2 separate regions of the Homo sapiens genome follow, and region 2 is linked to region 1. Evidence: promoter capture Hi-C in human tissues and cell types (Jung and others, 2019). All regions are on one chromosome and are shown on one strand. Each heading gives the region's core, a stretch centred on a gene start or on the middle of the fragment in contact. The rest is flanking DNA. Distances are from core to core; before and after follow the strand shown. Region 1 holds the start of SOD1 (superoxide dismutase 1). Region 2 has its middle 13 kb from the start of LINC00159.

What was found. The method cuts DNA at HindIII sites, captures the fragments that hold promoters and counts their contacts. A contact is called where the count stands out against the background at its distance.
Region 2: a contact is called between a fragment that was not itself captured here and the fragment with the promoter of SOD1 in region 1, in 1 of the 25 tissues and cell types used here (lymphoblastoid cells).

What each region holds. Positions count from the first base shown.
Region 1 is chr21:31,658,255-31,661,446 of GRCh38, forward strand. SOD1 (superoxide dismutase 1) reads left to right here and starts at 1,439. Exons shown (of 5, transcript NM_000454.5): 1 at 1,439-1,587. The coding sequence starts at 1,516. It overlaps SOD1-DT (SOD1 divergent transcript), which reads right to left and starts at 1,770. Exons shown (of 3, transcript NR_187558.1): 1 at 1,143-1,770. RefSeq lists silencers at 1,052-1,371, 1,642-1,921 and enhancers at 2,082-2,281, 2,781-3,192. The HindIII fragment of the contact is 13,368 bases long and covers 1-3,192 here.
Region 2 is chr21:32,098,063-32,101,254 of GRCh38, forward strand. No RefSeq gene overlaps it. Among named protein-coding and RNA genes, the nearest start is that of LINC00159, 13 kb to the left of the region's middle. The HindIII fragment of the contact is 3,760 bases long and covers 1-3,192 here.

The DNA of each region.
Region 1 (3,192 bases), core at 189-2,688:
GGCAAAGGCCCTTTGGCCAGCATTTGCACTGTTTATGCAACCGTTTAGAATATACGAATTATCTGGAGACTACTACCAAATACAACAGGCAAAACTGCAAATATGTATACTTCCTAGAGGATGATAAAAAAATGTGAATTGTATTTCTCTGATAGAGGATGCATTAGAGTCTGAGGGTCTAAATAGCGTAAATAATAAATAAGTAAATAAATCGATAGTAGTGTACTCCAAACGAGGCTGGAATAGCTTCTATTGTTGTTTCACACTGGACTTCAATTAAGTCTCAGTATTTTGCCATACTCAATATTAAGTACTAGGCTGGACGTGGTGGCTCATGTCTGTAATCCCAGCACTTTGGGAGGCCGAGGTGGGTAGATGGCTGGCTTGAGCTCAGGAGTTTGAAACCAGCCTGGGCAACATGGTAAAACCCCATCTGTACCCAAAATACAAAAATCAGCCAGGTGTGGTGGCACATGCCTGTGGTCCCAGGTACTTGGGAGGCTGAGGCAGGAGGATGGCTTGAACCCAGGAGGTGGAGGCTGCAGTGAGCTATGATGGCGCCACTGCACTCCAGCCTGGGTGACAGAGCGAGACCCTGTCTCAAAAATCAAACAAACAACCCCCTCGCCCCGGACAAAAGTAGTTTGCACTATTTTCTCATTTCACAATATGTTTTTGAAATATTTCCCTTGAAAGGTAAGTCATATTTATCATTCCTGTTGTATGGAGGCATCATAAATTATTTCACCATTCTACCCTCCTTGAGTGTTGTGGCCTTTAGGCCAGACAAAAACGCAGGTGATGCCTAGAAGCCAACTAGTTGCCGTTTGGTTATCTGTAGGGTTGTGGCCTTGCCAAACAGGAAAAATATAAAAAGAATACCGAATTCTGCCAACCAAATAAGAAACTCTATACTAAGGACTAAGAAAATTGCAGGGGAAGAAAAGGTAAGTCCCGGGATTGAGGTGTAGCGACTTTCTATACCCTCAGAAAACTAAAAAACAAGACAAAAAAATGAAAACTACAAAAGCATCCATCTTGGGGCGTCCCAATTGCTGAGTAACAAATGAGACGCTGTGGCCAAACTCAGTCATAACTAATGACATTTCTAGACAAAGTGACTTCAGATTTTCAAAGCGTACCCTGTTTACATCATTTTGCCAATTTCGCGTACTGCAACCGGCGGGCCACGCCCCCGTGAAAAGAAGGTTGTTTTCTCCACATTTCGGGGTTCTGGACGTTTCCCGGCTGCGGGGCGGGGGGAGTCTCCGGCGCACGCGGCCCCTTGGCCCCGCCCCCAGTCATTCCCGGCCACTCGCGACCCGAGGCTGCCGCAGGGGGCGGGCTGAGCGCGTGCGAGGCGATTGGTTTGGGGCCAGAGTGGGCGAGGCGCGGAGGTCTGGCCTATAAAGTAGTCGCGGAGACGGGGTGCTGGTTTGCGTCGTAGTCTCCTGCAGCGTCTGGGGTTTCCGTTGCAGTCCTCGGAACCAGGACCTCGGCGTGGCCTAGCGAGTTATGGCGACGAAGGCCGTGTGCGTGCTGAAGGGCGACGGCCCAGTGCAGGGCATCATCAATTTCGAGCAGAAGGCAAGGGCTGGGACGGAGGCTTGTTTGCGAGGCCGCTCCCACCCGCTCGTCCCCCCGCGCACCTTTGCTAGGAGCGGGTCGCCCGCCAGGCCTCGGGGCCGCCCTGGTCCAGCGCCCGGTCCCGGCCCGTGCCGCCCGGTCGGTGCCTTCGCCCCCAGCGGTGCGGTGCCCAAGTGCTGAGTCACCGGGCGGGCCCGGGCGCGGGGCGTGGGACCGAGGCCGCCGCGGGGCTGGGCCTGCGCGTGGCGGGAGCGCGGGGAGGGATTGCCGCGGGCCGGGGAGGGGCGGGGGCGGGCGTGCTGCCCTCTGTGGTCCTTGGGCCGCCGCCGCGGGTCTGTCGTGGTGCCTGGAGCGGCTGTGCTCGTCCCTTGCTTGGCCGTGTTCTCGTTCCTGAGGGTCCCGCGGACACCGAGTGGCGCAGTGCCAGGCCCAGCCCGGGGATGGCGACTGCGCCTGGGCCCGCCTGGTGTCTTCGCATCCCTCTCCGCTTTCCGGCTTCAGCGCTCTAGGTCAGGGAGTCTTCGCTTTTGTACAGCTCTAAGGCTAGGAATGGTTTTTATATTTTTAAAAGGCTTTGGAAAACAAAAATACGCAACAGAGACCGTTTGTGTGACACTTTGCAGGGAAGTTTGCTGGCCTCTGTTCTAGGTCATGATTGGGCTGCAAGGGCAGAGAAGGTAGCCTTGAACAGAGGTCCTTTTCCTCCTCCTAAGCTCCGGGAGCCAGAGGTTTAACTGACCCTTTTGGGGATTTTTGAGGGCAGTGATCTTAACTTTGGGTGCACAGTTAGCTTATTTGAAGATCTTACTAAAAATACACCAGAGCCCAACCTCCGACCAATTACATCAAAACCTGTCCTAGTGCAGGGTGAGTATTGCTGTTTTTTGAAAGTTTCCAAAAGTGATTTTGATGTGCACCTACGATTGAGAACTGTCGTTTGAGGACAGTGGGTGGAGTTTCGTATTTGGAAATTAGAAGACCTGGAGTTTCCATTACACCGAATTGGCACTTAATAACTGTTGTCGGAGCATTTCTTAAGCCACATTTTCGTAAAGTGGCTTTAAAATTGCTCTGCCAGTAGGCAGGTTGCTAAGATGGTCAGAGACAAACTTCTGAACGACTCTTGTAAAATATACAGAAATATTTTCAGAACTTTTATCAGTAAAATTACAAAACGTGTTGCAAGGAAGGTGCTTGTGATAACACTGTCCCCAGAACCTTAGTGAAGTTACCAACTGGTGGAAAATTTTCTCTTGCACTCGGCTTAAAAATCATGAGGGAATATTTACTATACGAATGAGATTCAGTCTTTAAAGGGGTTTACAGAAACGTGAGAGGACAGGAACAGTTAGTCTGTGTAAATGTCTGAAATATATGTGAGGGAGATAATGAGTTTAGCCTTTTTCTTTAATAGGTCTCCAGATTTTCTGGAAAAGGTTCTTTGGCATTTGACTCCATTTTGCTGTTTCATTTGTCAGACTTCTTTTTGTCCCTCTTTACTTCTCCCCACATAATTCACCAGTACTAGTGTTTTGTTTTTCAGACCAAGTCTCGCTCTGTCGCCCAGGCTGGAGTGCAGTGGCGCGATCTCAGCTCACTGCAACC
Region 2 (3,192 bases), core at 470-2,969, 440 kb after region 1:
TCCTGAGCAAGTGAATTAAATTCTATGTCTGAGTTTTCTCTTCTGCAAATTGGAGACAATGATGCTTCCTGTCTACTAGGGTTGTTATTCTCGGTCTCTGACAAGCATGAAAGTTCGACTCGAACTAACCTCTTCTTGGTAACTTTATTCTTTACCTGTCTTCTCCGCATGACCAGAGATACCTCTGTAAAATGAGGTTGAGCAGGAATATCAAGCCTGCCACACAGCAAATACATAGTAAATGTTAGTCATCATCATAATCATTATCATCACTGTTATTTCAGCTATTAACAATCTTCACCAGATATGCTTGCTTTTCTAAGTCCCTTCCTCCCCATTATGCTATTGGTGGCTGTGACTTTTTTTTTCTTTTCTTTTCTTTTCTTTTTTTTTTTTTTTTGAGACAGAGTCTCACTGTGTCACCCAGGCTGGAGTGCAGCGGTGTGATCTCGGCTGACTGCAACCTCTGCCTCCAGGGTTCAAGCAATTCTCCTGCCTCAGCCTCCCAAGTAGCTGGGACTACAAGCACACGCCACCACTCCAGGCTAATTTTTCTATTGTTAGTAGAGATGGGGTTTCACCATATTGGCCAGGCTGGTCTCGAACTCCTGACCATGAGGTTTTGGTCGGCCTCCCAAAGTGCTGGGATTACAGGTGTGAGCCACTGTACCCGGCCTGTGCCTTGCCTTTCATTTGATCTTCTCCTGTGTCGTGTCCAGCCTCATGGTCTCCTGTCCCTCCCCTTCTGAACTGAAGCTTCCCCACCACAATTGAGTCCCTTGTGTATCTGGGATCTGGCGTTCATGCCCTCCTCTCTCTCTTCCCTCCTACACTCCCCCTCCACCACCCCAACCACAAGCCCACATATCTCTAGCTCTCAACCATCCTACCTTGGAGACATTACTTGCAGAGAATAGCCTGCAATGCTGTGAAGTTCCCTCCCAGGGAGAAAGAGGTCATCTTGAGAACTTATATCCCACAGCCCCCAGTCTCCCATGCTGGGACCTTCTCACCTCTTCTGTCCTGGCAAGCAGCCAAGTGTGGCTCAGAGGCTGAGCAGAGGGAAAGATGTTGGCCCTTTGCTCCTCAGCATCAGTGGGCTTAAGTGCGGGCACAATCCAGACCTGGAGTGTTTGCATTTGAAGGCTTAGTTCTACTCGAATGAAACTCTGGTTCAAGGCCTTCCAGGCCAATGAAAAATTCCAGCCAACTGAGACCAAGCAAATGTGGCTGTATCCACATATTCAGAGCCAGGCCTTGGGCAGGGCAGGTGACAAGGAGCATGTCATTTGGGGGAACCTAGCACTGAGTGAAATCATCACAGTTAATTCTTTACTAGCTGTGTCAGAATTTCGGCTCATTTTAATCTTGGTGTTCAATGAACACCCTGAGGTCTTCCTCATGAGTCCCCTGCATTCTGATGAAATTGCCTTTAGTGTCTTAGGAGGCCGTGTGGTTCAGAGCATGGGTGTGGAGTTGAGAGATGTCCATTCCACTCCAGGTTTCACCCTAAAAAGCAGTGTGAGGTGGAACGAGTTATTCTGAGGCTCAATTTTTTCATCTATAAAATGATCATTATTATTATCACCGTCACCATCATAATCATCAATTGCCCTGCCCCCTGCCTCACAGTCTTACTAGGGTTCAACAGGATAAGCTATGTAAAATGTTCGGCCCAGGGCCTGGGACCTGTTTTTCCTGCTTCTGCTGTTGTTATTGTTACTATTATTATTGTTTCAGGTCACCTGGCCCTCCAGGGCCTCTTTGTAACTCTTATAAAATGATCTCTGACACTCTGAGCCTGTTTTTATTTGGAATCTTAGGGGAAAAAAGCATTTGTGAGGTCCAGGATTTAATCTTGTTTGTCCTCGGGGCATGTGGCTATTAACAAGGGTTGTTTACGGAGGGTCTGTCCATCCTGCTGAGCTTGTGTGATCCTCACAGTGGCCCTGCAAGGTCAGCATTATTATTTCCATTTCATGAATGAAGAAGAGGCCCAGGGAGGTTGAAACACTTGCTCAAATTCACACATCCAGAAAGGAGCAGGATTGGAGTAGGAACCTGTGTCTGATTCATTTTGCAAACACTTTTCTAGCACTTTCTATGCTCCTAGCACTGTTTCAAGTACTTTTTAAATAAGAATTAATTGATGTCATCCTCTTAACAACCCTATGAGGTAGGTGCCGTGACTGCCCCCTTGTGTAGATGAGGAAACTAAGGCACAAAGAGGTTAAGCCACTTGCCCAAAGTCACACAGGTTTGCATGGCAGTGACAAATTCACTTCGGCAGCCTGGCCCCAGCTGCCCCTCAAGGCTGTTCTTTCCCATACACGTCACTGTCTCTCACAGGGGTCCCGCTTTTTCAGTGGGTACATAAGCCTGCCTTCCTGGCACAGACATAGACCCCCTTCCCTGGTCCCCTTCGAGCCTCTTAAAAGGGGAGCCGCTGTTCTGCATTCATCCTCCATGACCGTGGCCTCTTCTGCTTCCTCCTCAGAAGCCAGTGGGTTTGTTCTGCAAATTGCTAGTCAGAGGAGGCCAGGCATTGTTTAGGCTGCTGGTGGTGAGGGTCAGTGCCAGCTACTGGACCAGAGCCAGACCTGCCCCCGTGCCAAACCCACCGCAGGGAGGCCTGCTGCACCTCCTCCTGGGAGGTCTCCCTAGGGCATCACCTGAGAGCATGCAAAACAAAAGCCACACAACCAAACCATTTTTCCAAGGAGGGCCTGCTTGCCCAACACAGTAAAATCCAACTCCTATTGGCCTGTATTCCAGTAGATGCATTCAGTGTGTCCCTTGGCAAAATAATGTGGTAATTGCTGTAAGAGACTGCCCGCTGCCTTCCCCAGTGGATGCTCTATCCTTCACCAGTGCTCATGAGCATTTGTGGAGGGGTCCTCTTCCATGGCCAGCCAACAGCCCCACTTCTGCACCCTGGCTCATACCATTCAGAGTCTGCACCCTGGACTGACTTAGACTAGCAAAAGATTTTAATCAACTGGTTCCATCTCCCCAGCCCACACGGATATCTGGGGACTCCTAAAAACACCATCTCTGCCTGAAGAAATTTCCCTAGCATCTGCTAAAGCAGGCTAGCAAAGAGGAATGGGGGCTTACTCCATCTTTTAACAAATTGACTTATTAGGAAGCGTTCTCACATCCTGAGTCAAATCTACTGTATTAAAATTTTCT